3 separate regions of the Homo sapiens genome follow, and all the other regions are linked to region 2. The links are contacts of gene promoters, found by promoter capture Hi-C in blood cells and fetal thymus (Javierre and others, 2016). All regions are on one chromosome and are shown on one strand. The core of a region is centred on a gene start or on the middle of the fragment in contact, and the rest is flanking DNA. Distances in the headings are between cores, read along the strand shown. Region 1 overlaps GJA9 (gap junction protein alpha 9). Region 2 holds the start of GNL2 (G protein nucleolar 2). Region 3 overlaps RRAGC (Ras related GTP binding C).

Region 1 (4,039 bases), core at 47-2,546, 1.3 Mb after region 2:
TCCATATAAAAGGTACTGTCCAATCATGAATCCAACTTCAACCACAGAGCGAGTGAAAATGTGTATCACATAAGTGCAAAGCAAGGTTCCTCTGAGTGGAGCTTTATTTAGTTTCCTTTTCTCCAGCTGACAAAGCTCTTGCTCCAATCTCCTCCGATCCCTAGGCATTTCAAACTCTACCTCCTCCAGTTCTACTCTTAACTGAGCTTTCATCCTTTGCCTCTCTTCCTCAAGAACTCTCAGTCGGTACAATGCATGGCCCATGTAGACCAGGGATGGTGAAGACACAAATATCACCTGCAGAACCCAGTATCTAATGAGGGAGATAGGAAAGGCCTGGTCGTAGCATACATTTCTGCAGCCTGGTTGTTCTGTATTGCAGATGAAGCCAGACTGCTCATCATTCCAGACATCTTCAGCTGCTACACCCAGAACAAGCATTCGAAATATGAACAGGATGGTGAGCCAGATCTTTCCAATCATGGTGGAGTGGATGTGAACTTCCTCCAGAGTATCTCCAAGGAGATTCCAGTCCCCCATGTTTATTTAGTCAGCCATCTTAGCTCTGATCCACATCAAATAAGAGGCAGATAAATTCTTCCATTCTGAAGGGAGCACTATTTCTTAAAGCAAACCTATGGTGAAAATATAACAATATGTCACTTCTATATGCTGGTTGCTTTACTTTTTCCCTAGATAGCTGTGGGGTTTTTTCTTTGTTTGTTTGTTTGTTGAGACAGAGTCTCCCTCTGTTGCCCAGGCTGGAGTACAGTGTTGCAACCACAACTCCCTGCAGCCTCAACCTCCCAGACTCAAGCGATCATCTCCCCTCTCAGCCTCCTGAGTAGCTGGGACTGCAGGTGTGTGCAACTACACCCAGATAATTTTTTTTATTTTTTTGTAGAGACAGGGTCTCACTCTATTGCTGCAGCTAGTCTTAAACTCCTAGACTCAAGTGATCCTCTTGCCTTCACCTCCCAAAGTGTGGGAATTACAGGTGTGGGTCACCACACCTGGCCAAAGTGTGAATCTGTTACCAATAATATACTTAAATGTCAGGAATTTAAAATCACTTATATTTAGACATCACAATACAATGAAAAAAACATGATACCTGGAGGAGGAGTGTATATATTCTCTATTAAGAATATAGGCTGGGCGGGGTGGCTCACACCTGTAATCCCAACACTTTGGGAGGCCAAGGTGGGTGGATCATTTGAGGTCAGGAGTTCCAGACCAGCCTGGCCAACATGGTAAAACCCCGCCTCTACTAAAAATACAAAAATTAGCCAGGCGTGGTGGCAGGCGCTTGTAGTCCCAGCTACTCGGGAGGCTGAGGCAAGAGAATCGCTTGAACCTGGAAGGCAGAGGTTGCAGTGAGCTGAGATCAAACCCTTGACCTCAGATGATCTGGCCACCTCGGCCTCCCAAAGTGCTGGGATTACAGGCATGAGCCAATGCGCATGGCCTAAAATTATATTCTTTTTTTTTTTTTTTTTGAGACGGAGTCTCACTCTGTAGCCCAGGCTGGAGTGCAATGGCATGATCTCAGCTCACCGCAACCTCCACCTCCTGGGTTCAAGCGATTCTCCTGCCTCAGCCTCCTGAGTAGCTGTGATTACAGGCATGCACCACCATGCCCGGATAATTTTGTATTTTTAGTAGAGATGATGTTTCTCCATGTTGGCCAGGCTGGTCTCGAACTCCTGACCTCAGGTGATCTGCCCACCTCGGCCTCCCAAAGTGCTGGGATTACAGGCGTGAGCCACCATGCCCAGCCTATTGTTGTTTTTCAACAGAACTTTTGGAAAGGTTTCTAAAACTAGTAACCTGATCTTAACCTTATTTATTAAGATTATTTGATATAAAAGTTATAACAAAGTCAATTTCTTTTTCCCCAACATGCCATTACTGGCTTGAAAAGTCAGTGATTTTTTTTTCTTTCTTTCTTTCTTTTGGGACAGAGTCTTGCTCTGTCGCCAGGCTGGAGTGCAGTGGCGCAATCTCGGCGCATTGCAACCTCCGCCTCCTGGGTTCAAGCGATTCCCCTGCCTCATCCTCCTGAGTAGCTGGGATTACAGGCGCCTGCCAACACCCCCCGGGATAATTTTTTGTATTTTAGTAGACACGGGGTTTCACCATGTTGGCCAGGATGATCTCGATCTCCTGACCTCGTGATCCACCCGCCTCAGCCTCCCAAAGTGCCAGGATTACAGGCATGAGCCACCGTGCCCGGTCAAAAAGTCAGTGATTTTTAAATCTCATTTATACACATAGGAAAACGAATATGCTTCATTTGATAATTCAGTAAGATATGGCATTCAGTGAAACCAGAGGAAACAGATCTGGCTGTCATAGGAATTTAGATTAGTTTTTTTAATCCAAATTGAAATAAATTTGAAATAAATTCTGGTTTCTTCCTGGCAATTGGTGAACATTTTCAGAAATTCATCTCAGTAATATTTATGAATATGTATAAAGTACTTATTATACTTTACTATGAAAAAGTATACTTTTTTTCTTTTTTTTTGGTGGGGGGAGACAGAGTCTCACTCTGTTGCCCAGACTAGAGTGCAGTGGCAGGATCTCAGCCCACTGCAACCTCCACTTCCCAGGTTCAAGTGATTCTCGTGCCTGAGCCTGCCAAGTAGCTGAGACTACAGGCAAGTGCCACCACGCTTGGCTAATTTTTGTATTGTTAGTAGAGACGGGGTTTCACCATGTTGGCCAGGCTGGTCTTGAACTCCTGAACCTTGAGTGATCCACCCGCCTCGGCCTCCCATAGTAAGCCACCGCGCCCAGCCCAAATTTTGTAAATTCTTACGTTAAAATGAACTTCAAGCCCAGCACAGTGGCTCACACCTGTAATCCCAGCACTTTGGGAGGCCGATGCGGATCACCTGAGGTCAGGAGTTCGAGACCAGCCTGGCCAACATGGTGAAACACTGTCTCTACAAAAATACAAAAAATTAGCTGGGTGTGGTGGCAGGCATCTGTAACCCCAGCTACTCAGGAGGCTGAGGCAGGAGAATCACTTGAACCTGGGAGGCAGAGGTTGCGGTGAGCCAAGATCGCGCCATTGCACTCCAGCCTTGGCGACAAGAGCAGAAACTCTGTCTCAGAAAACAAAAAGAACTCCAAAAATTCTCAACTATTTTATGGTACCAGAATCTTTTTTTTTTTTTTTTTTTTGAGACGAAGTTTCCCTCTTGTTGCCCAGGCTGGAGTGCAATGGCACAATCTCGGCTCACCGCAACCTCCACCTCCCAGGTTCAAGTGATTCTCCTGCCCCAGGCTCCAGAGTAGCTGGTATTACAGACATGCGCCACCATGCCCAGCTAATTTTGTATTTTTAGTAGAGATGGGGTTCCTCCATATTGGTCAGGCTAGTTTCGAACTCCCAACCTCAGGTGATCCACCTGCCTCGGCCTCCCAAAGTGCTGGGATTACAGGCGTGAGCCACTGCGCCCGGCCTTATGGTACCAGAATCTCATTATAGATATTACTTGCAATAGATTGTTCACTGGTATGGTGGCAGTATTATGGAAACTTTCACTGTAGCAGTATTTGACCTATTTAAGACATATAGCTGCTCTCTTGAAGGAAGCAGTGGGGCAAGTTATAATTTAGCTGCTTGGATTATTTGCCGGCAGATTGCATATTAAGGTTGGTATCCCAGGTTATCTCAGAGGAAATATACCCCAAAGGAAAGATTTTAAAAGTGAATATTTTCATTATTTTTCATTTAAAATATAAATGTATGTCCTGTCCCCTTTATATAAAGGGAACTGTTACACAATCAAACAAACTACTAAGATACAAGATGTGTTCATCACTAAAATCCTATGCGGTAAGTATGTTGTTTCCCCCATCTTACAGATGAGGAAACGGAAGCACACCTTAATTTACCTGAGGTCACACAGCTGGAGCTGGCATTCAAACCCAATCATTGTGGCTTTAGAGTCAGCTCCTTAAATTTTTTACTAAACTATTATTTTTCCTCTGTAAGCAAACTTCAAATTTGCCGGAAAGAAACATT
Region 2 (3,888 bases), core at 154-2,653:
TTATTCATTATTATTATCTTTTTTTTGAGACAGAGTCGTGCTCTGTCACCCAGGCTGGAGTGCAGTGTCGCGATCTCAGCTCACTACAACCTCCACCTCCCCGGTTCATGCAATTCTTCCACCTCAGCCTCCCGAGTAGCTGGGATTACGGGCATCCGCCATCATGCCCGGCTAATCTTTGTATTTTTGTAGAGAGGGGGTTTCATCATGTTGGTCAGGCTGGTCTTGAACTCCTGACCTCGGGTGATCCGACCGCCTCGGCCTCCCAAAGTGCTGGGATTACAGGCGTGAGCCACCACACCTGGCCAGGAGCCCCTTAAATCACCTGTCTGGTCCTGAAGTGATACAGTAGAAGACAGGCTGAAACCACAGCCCATTGGCTCTCCTAACAGTCTCTAACAGTAGAAACTGGCGGCTCTACTACTACTCACTAACTGTTGCAATTATGACAGGCCACTTCCTGTATTTTGATTCAGTCTCTTCACCTGTAAAATCATAATCTCTAAGGGCCTTTTGGGGTCTAACATTCTGAGATTCCAGTTTGTGCAAAGTGAATAATTTATTATCAATCCGGAATAAACATTCAACTTGCATTAAAATTGTCAAAAATTCTAAACCATATTTTAAAACAAAGTTTTATTAATTAAACCTGAATGGAAGGAACTCTCCCATAGGATGTCTTGTTAATCGTACAGGTGGAACCTCGCCAAAACTTACACACATCTCCTAAACAGCCTTACTGCAATGATCATACTGACTTCTTTGTAGGGTTCTCTAAGCACTTTACCAGATAGAATAATTCCAAGGGCCAAAACTATAAGCCCTTTCTCATTTTAAAGGTCAAAGCTAAGGTGGCAGGCAAGTATGATCACGTGTAAAAGGCCCGAAGGGTCAACCTACACCATTTTTAATCTGACTTTCTCTGCATCTCTCAACTGGAGAGGACCCAAGGCTGTCAGCCTGAGTGTTCACTTTCCTTGACTTCAGACCAGTTGACTACACTTTGGCCTGCCAGGCGTGCACTGAGCCCTCCTCAGTTCCCCCCTGAGAAGAAACCACCACAAATATTGCTTTCCTTTTTCCCTTTTCATCCCCAACAGCCACCCCGCTCGTAGTCATTCTAAGCAATGCCACTCGAGTAACCCTCCTTCCCCTCCAGTGCTCCTCGGAGCCCTTCCCTATACTTCCTCCAAGCTCCACCCTCGATCAGCCCTGCCGCCTGTACCTGGGTTTGTGCTGGCCTTGGACGGGTTGATGGTGCTCCGTCCTTTGTACTTGGGCTTCACCATCTTGGCGACGAGACCGGGACCGGAGTGCGAGGTCCGGCTTACGTGGTGAAACAAACTTTTATGTTCCCAAGCCCGGCCGAAGACACCCGCCTGAACCACGCCGGACCACGTGTGCACGACGTACGTCACTTCCGCTCGCGTCCCTCTCGGCCTCAGAGCGACTTCCTGTGAACGCGCGGCGCGCGCCGTCACCCTCCTGGCTCCGCCCCCGCTCCAGCCGCCTAGGCGTCGCCCTGCGTGGAGCCCCAGCCCGCTCCAGCCCTAGCAACCGCCAAGCTGCCCGTTCATAGCAACCGCCTAGTTAACCTGAACGCGCGGCCAGAGCTCCCAGTTGGGTCCACCTCCGAATAAAGAAGCTTCTTCCCAGGCCAGTGGCACAAGCTTAAGTTTGTCTTCTGAATTTGTCTTCTAAGTCCTTCCAAAAGTTGCCGACCACACAGCAGCCAAATATCCGTTAGGAGGTGTCATTCTCTTCCTTACAACTCCAGTGGCTTATCATCACTCTTAGAATGAGAGGTAGGGGAAGGGAGAAGGGAGAAACAGACAGAGACAGAGATTGATTCAAACTTTTTGCCATCCCTACAGGATTCTGTGATCTGGCCCCTGCCTGCCTATTTATCTAATCTCATGTGTACGTCCCTCCCTCTGGTTATTCTGACATTTACACTGGATATTCTCTCTGCCTGAATCACTCTTTCCCAGAATCTTTGCATAGCTGTCATTCAATCCTAAGCTCAAATATCACCTATTGGTAGGCCTGCAAGAATTAGCAAATAGAAATACAGGACACCAAATTAAATTAGAATTTCAGAGAAAAAAAATGAATACTTTTCTTTAGTACACCTCCAACAGTGCCTGGAAAATACTTAGACTAAAAAAGTATTCATCGTTTGCCTGAAATTCAAATGTAACTGTACGTTCTGTATTTTATCTGGTGACCCTTCCTGCTGTGAGAACTCATTCCTGTCTAATTTGTCTAAATCAGCCACCTTTCACCCTTTCACAGTTATTCTGTTACAGTATTCTGTTTTATTTATTTCATGGCATTTATCACTAGTTGAATTTTTTTTACAAGTTTATTGGCTGCTTCCCCCAAACTAGAATGTAAGATTCTTAAAAGCAGGGACCTTGTTAATTTGTTCACTGCTGTGTCTTTAAGACTTGAATAGCATCTGAAACAAAGGACTCAAAAAATATTCATTAAGTGAAAGAATGAGTAGATGGGAATGTCTCTTGCCTTGAGGATGAAGGAAGGCATTAAGACCCAGTGATTTCTGTTTCTACTAGCCAGAATAAAGTGTCTAGATGCCAGTGTTTGAACCAAGAAGCCCTCTCTCTTTTTACAATTTATTTTTTGTTTGTTTGTTTTTGTTTTTGTTTTTTGAGACGGAGTCTCGCTCTTGTTGCCCAGGCTGGAGTGCAGTGGCCCGGTCTCGGTTCACTGCAACCTCCACCTCCCGGGTTCAAGCAATTCTCCTGCCTCAGCCTCCCAAGTAGCTGAGATTACAGGCGCATGGTATCATGCCCAGCTAATTTTTGTATTTTTAGTAGAGACGGGCTTTCACCACATTGGCCAGGCTGGTCTCAAACTCCTGACCTCAGGTGATCCACCTGCCTCAGCCTCCCAAAGTGCTGGGATTACAAGTGTGAGCCACCTCGCCTGGTCCCTCTCTCTTTTTTGGTACCTCAAATTGTCAGAAAATGGCCATCTTTGTACCCTCTGGATAGGCCAAAGAAGAGATGGTTAGGCAAGAGGAAGGGTGGATTCATGCAGTGTAGCTCATTTCATAAAAACAAACAATTTGTTATAAAGTGAGGTATTCTAATTGAGCAGGGGATGATTGAGTCTTTATTTCTCTGAGTTTGAAACAAACCCCAAAACATTCTCTTTAGAGCAAAAGCAGGCCATGTCATAGGCTAGAGCTGGAAATACCTTCTGTCCCTCAAGCTTCGCTTTTATTGCCCCAAGGGCAAGTATCATGAGATTAAATGCAGCTCTGCTGGGAAGGCCCTGACTGTGACCTGTGTTAGGGAAGCTCTGAGAGCTATTTGGAAAAAACTTCATGATCAGTGAAGATGCCCCCTTCCACCCCACACTGTCCCTCTGATCCCCAAAACAAGGATACCATAGCCTCCTCCCAGAGAGAAGATTCAGTTAATGTGTTTCTGATGCCTCAAGTTGGTGCAAACCAGAATAAACACGGATGGCAAAAATCAGCCTATGAGCTCATTCAGGCTTTGATCAGAGACATAATTTCATTATGAAATTTTGAATCAGGCTGTTGTGAAGTCTTGCCAAGGAGTTTCATTTTCCCAGATGATATGGTGGGTTGTTTCTCTCCTGTTCTCATACTCTGCTTGCATTTATCTTACAAACTTTCCATCTATTTTTATAATCTGACCCATCAATCCTTTTACAACAATATTTGCCGATCTCGACAACCAACTTCAATTCTACCAGCAGATAAAAAGCCTGATCAAGGTAAGTCAAGCTTAAGTTACTGGTTTGATTTGCCTGCCCTGCTTGCCGCATTGTAATGCAGTGACTATTTTTCACTCTCTTTTCTGATGTCATGCCAACTAGCAGAGGCAAGATACA
Region 3 (3,701 bases), core at 1,159-3,658, 1.3 Mb after region 2:
AAGGATCCCCATGGAGCACTGGGGAACACAGGACAAGAACGGCTCAAAATCCAGGTAAAAAACTATTAGCAGTGGATTCCCAAAAAAATAAGACTGAATTTTTGTGGAGAGCCACTTACATTTTCTCCTACAAACATTGCTGAATTTTTATTTTTTTAACATGAATTATTTTCAAATTATTTAGAAATTTAATCCAGGCAAACTAGAGGTCAATGAGACTTTTCGACATGGTTTCCTAGAAGAATAACTGAAAGATCTTGGAGCCTGAGACCCAGAGAATTTTAGGGGGAGGGATAGCAGTTAGCTTGAGCCCATAAAGAAGTCACAACAATAGAACGGGGACAGAGAAATAACTTGCTGTCTCTCTCCCCTTCTCCCTCTTTAAGCTACTTCTATCGTCAAGAGAATATTTTCTTGGGTACTTTTTAATACTCATTTCTACCTATATCACCAAATAAAATAAGATGTACAAAAATATTCCTCATACACTTTTAGAATGCAAATACACAAATCAATCCTATCAAGTAGGTATTATTTAATAATAATTTCTTAACAGTAGTTACAAACCAATAGTCCTCTAAATTTAATAGCAGCCTTATGCACATTTATAAGATAAACCCACCTAAGCCAAACTTTATAGAGTTTCATAAAAGTATAAAGTGTTTTAAAAGCTAAGATATATTACAGTCAGTCCAGGGGGGAGGTGGAAGGGAGCCAGCAGGAAAAATAAAAATGAAAAATAAAAAGAGTCAGTCCAGATTTGAAAGTGCACTCTCTGTATAAGGCTGTTCCTACTGAGAAAGATACTGTCTAAGACTCAAGCTAAAGACTTCCACAACAAATGTGACAGATTCACTTCACTGATGCAAGGCGGGGAAAAGTAATGAAACCAAGAGGAAGGAGTCCCAAAGCAGATTTATGCCATGAAGAAACAGCCTGACTCCAGTCTCTTGAGATGAATTTGGAAAAGCACCAGTGGAAACACTTCACATGACTTCAATCTCCAGGAAAACGCAAAAAGTGGGTAATTTCTCAATATCAGGCTCCCCAGACAGCCTGGAATTCAACAACAAGATCAAAAACATAAAAGATGTGGCAAAGGGCACACAGGTAGCAGAAAGCTATGGTGTTTGTAATGACAGAGATGGGAATACATTTACACCTTGTTCAGGGCTTTCATATCAAACACACATGTTGTTACCTAAGATGGAGTTTTTCTAGCCCAGCATCTGCAAGGTCATCATTGGCCCTTTGATGAATGTCCCTCTGTGTTTCTATTTTGTGATCATCAGACAGACCATCAACTTTGTGAATAAAAACCTCAAAATTCATGTCTGGGTTAACTTTGTAGGCTTTAGAAACAGTAATGTGAAGTCTTGTTAAAGCCTCCATGTAGTCATCCTGTAAGTCAGAACAAAATATTTTTTAAAATAAATCTTACAAAAGCCAAGTAATGAGTTAAAGCCTCAAACCACCTCTTTCCCCAACCACAGAAAAATACTATCCTAATTATCATCAATATTCAAACATTCAAATATACTATACTACTAAATAACTCTTCAATTGTCTCAAGATAAAAAAATTCAATTACCAAGTTAATGCTTGTAATTTTTAATATTAATTTAAGAAAGAAAAAAATGATATGAACATTTTTTCCCAACATAATTTTTTTAAGTAATCCCAGCTCTGCCATTTATTCAGTGTGTCACTTTAAGCAAGCTGCTTAAACTCTGATCTCAGTTTTCTCATCTGTAAGATCAGAATTACAATACCTACCTAACAATATTGTGAAGCTTAAATTAATTAGGTCCTGTACGTGAAGGCACCCTCTGTAGAGCCTATCACTCAGAAAGCATTCTTAACTAATGCTTAAGCTTATAAAAAGTAAGCTTCTTAAAGGATAGGGACTTGCCCCATTCATCTCACTGACTGCCACATGCTAGGCCCTCCATAAATGTTTGTTGAGCTAAACTCAATTTTGACAATTAAGTAAACTATTCACTCTAATATCTACTGACTCAGTTCTCATATTCCTCTTTATGTTATGGGATGGGATATTTTCAGGGAATAACATCACTATTATTATAAAATTATTATAAAATATGGCAACCAATAAAAGTGGAAAGCCAATGTTAGCTGCTCATCAACTAGGACTCAAGGATGTAAACCATATCTCCTAATCATCTGATATTCTGTACCTGCACAATGCATGTCTGCTCCCAAAGCACTCTGCAACTGCATCTCTTACACTGTTAGGGAATCTACTGCCAAAGAGATAAGCTGCAACCACATGACAAAGAAGATAAACAACTTTCCTTTGTTTCTACATCTTTTTCCCACCAGGAAAGAGGAGTAAACACATTACTGACTACCTGTGCGTCAATGACGTATATCAATGCTCCTGTTCCCCTGAAGATCATCTCATAGTCAAAGGTTGGGTCAAAAAAGTCCATTTGCCCAGGAAAATCCCATATCTGGAAATTCACAAAGGAGCTATTGGAAATGTCATCCTTATAAATCTTGTTGGTACTTTCCAAAAAGAGGGTCTCGTTGGGTGACATCTTATGAAACACCACCTGTTAAAAGAAAACAGGCAATTTTATGACTATTAAACTTCAGAATTTAAATTTAAAATTCCACCCTGGTTTAACATTTAAACATTTGATCCCACAAAAAAAAATTTTTTTTGAAAAGTAGAAACTGAATGGTGAATCCATTGGTATTCACTATCCCTTTATTTTTGACAAAAGAAGACACCAAATTAATTTCCATTAAATCTATTTTGGAGCTAAATCTTTTCTCCTATGTTCTATGCACCATACTCAGTACTAATAGTAGCAATCTCTATCACCTCCATTAGTTTTTCTGGGGGAAAGCTAACATTAATTCTACCAAAATCTGCTTTAAGATTATAAAAGTCTTACAGCTAAAGCTTAAGAAGTCTGGTTTATTCAAAAATTACTTGAATGCCTACCTCAGGCTCTGAGGAGTAATTTAAAAAGTGAAACAGACTGGACTCTGCCCTCACTGACTTTGCAGTCTAAGAAGGGCAGTAACTATACCAAGTAGAAAGTGAAAACGTCCAGGGGGAGGCCACGGGGACTGACAGGGAAAAGATAGCTCTCATGAGAAAAGAAACGTAAAGGCAATTGTTAAGAGTCACAATAATCGGCCCGGGTGCGGTGGCTCACGCCTTCAATCCCAGCACTTTAGGCGGCCGAGGCGGGCGGATCACTTGAGGTCAGGAGTTCGAGACCAGCCTGACCAATATGGTGAAACCCCATCCCCACTAAAAATACCAAAATTAGTCGGGCGTGGTGGTGCACGCCTGTAGTCCCAGCTACTTGGGAAGCTGAGGCAGGAGAATCACTTGAACCCAGGAGGTGGAGGCTGCAGTGAGTGAAGATCACACCACTGCCCTCCAGCCTGGGCGATGAGCAAGACTCCATAACAAACAAACAAAAAAAAAAGGATCACAATAATCACAACCTACACAGTTCTAACATAAAACTACTTTGCCTCTTACTGTCTAGAAGAGAAAAGTGAACAATTACTCTCAAGGTTTTCTCAGTAACAAATGTGAATAACTGAAATTAGTTTACTAAAAACCTACAGTCAACGTACCCAAGTTTTGCTGTAGAGGTGAAAATCAAGGTAAATAAAACACAGTACTCCAGCAAACCTGGAAGAACGCTGCTTTT

The links. Contacts are between HindIII fragments. The CHiCAGO score rates a contact against its expected background, and 5 or more counts as called.
Region 1: a contact is called between a fragment that was not itself captured here and the fragment with the promoter of GNL2 in region 2, in 1 of 17 cell types (neutrophils). The highest score is 6.0, in neutrophils.
Region 3: a contact is called between a fragment that was not itself captured here and the fragment with the promoter of GNL2 in region 2, in 1 of 17 cell types (total B cells). The highest score is 9.5, in total B cells.

Annotation. Positions count from the first base shown.
Region 1 is chr1:38,875,559-38,879,597 of GRCh38, forward strand. It overlaps GJA9 (gap junction protein alpha 9), which reads right to left. Exons shown (of 2, transcript NM_030772.5): 2 at 1-635. The coding sequence starts at 540. It overlaps RRAGC-DT (RRAGC divergent transcript), which reads left to right. Exons shown (of 2, transcript NR_186075.1): 2 at 383-668. The region is part of intron 1 of GJA9-MYCBP (GJA9-MYCBP readthrough); the gene reads right to left. Among named protein-coding and RNA genes, the nearest start is that of GJA9, 4.0 kb to the right of the region's middle. The HindIII fragment of the contact is 8,897 bases long and covers 1-4,039 here.
Region 2 is chr1:37,594,534-37,598,421 of GRCh38, forward strand. GNL2 (G protein nucleolar 2) reads right to left here and starts at 1,404. Exons shown (of 16, transcript NM_013285.3): 1 at 1,226-1,404. The coding sequence starts at 1,289. RefSeq lists enhancers at 903-962, 1,133-1,322. The HindIII fragment of the contact is 6,511 bases long and covers 1-1,643 here.
Region 3 is chr1:38,854,507-38,858,207 of GRCh38, forward strand. RRAGC (Ras related GTP binding C) reads right to left here. Exons shown (of 7, transcript NM_022157.4): 2 at 2,373-2,576; 3 at 1,202-1,401. Among named protein-coding and RNA genes, the nearest start is that of RRAGC, 3.4 kb to the right of the region's middle. The HindIII fragment of the contact is 1,043 bases long and covers 1,888-2,930 here.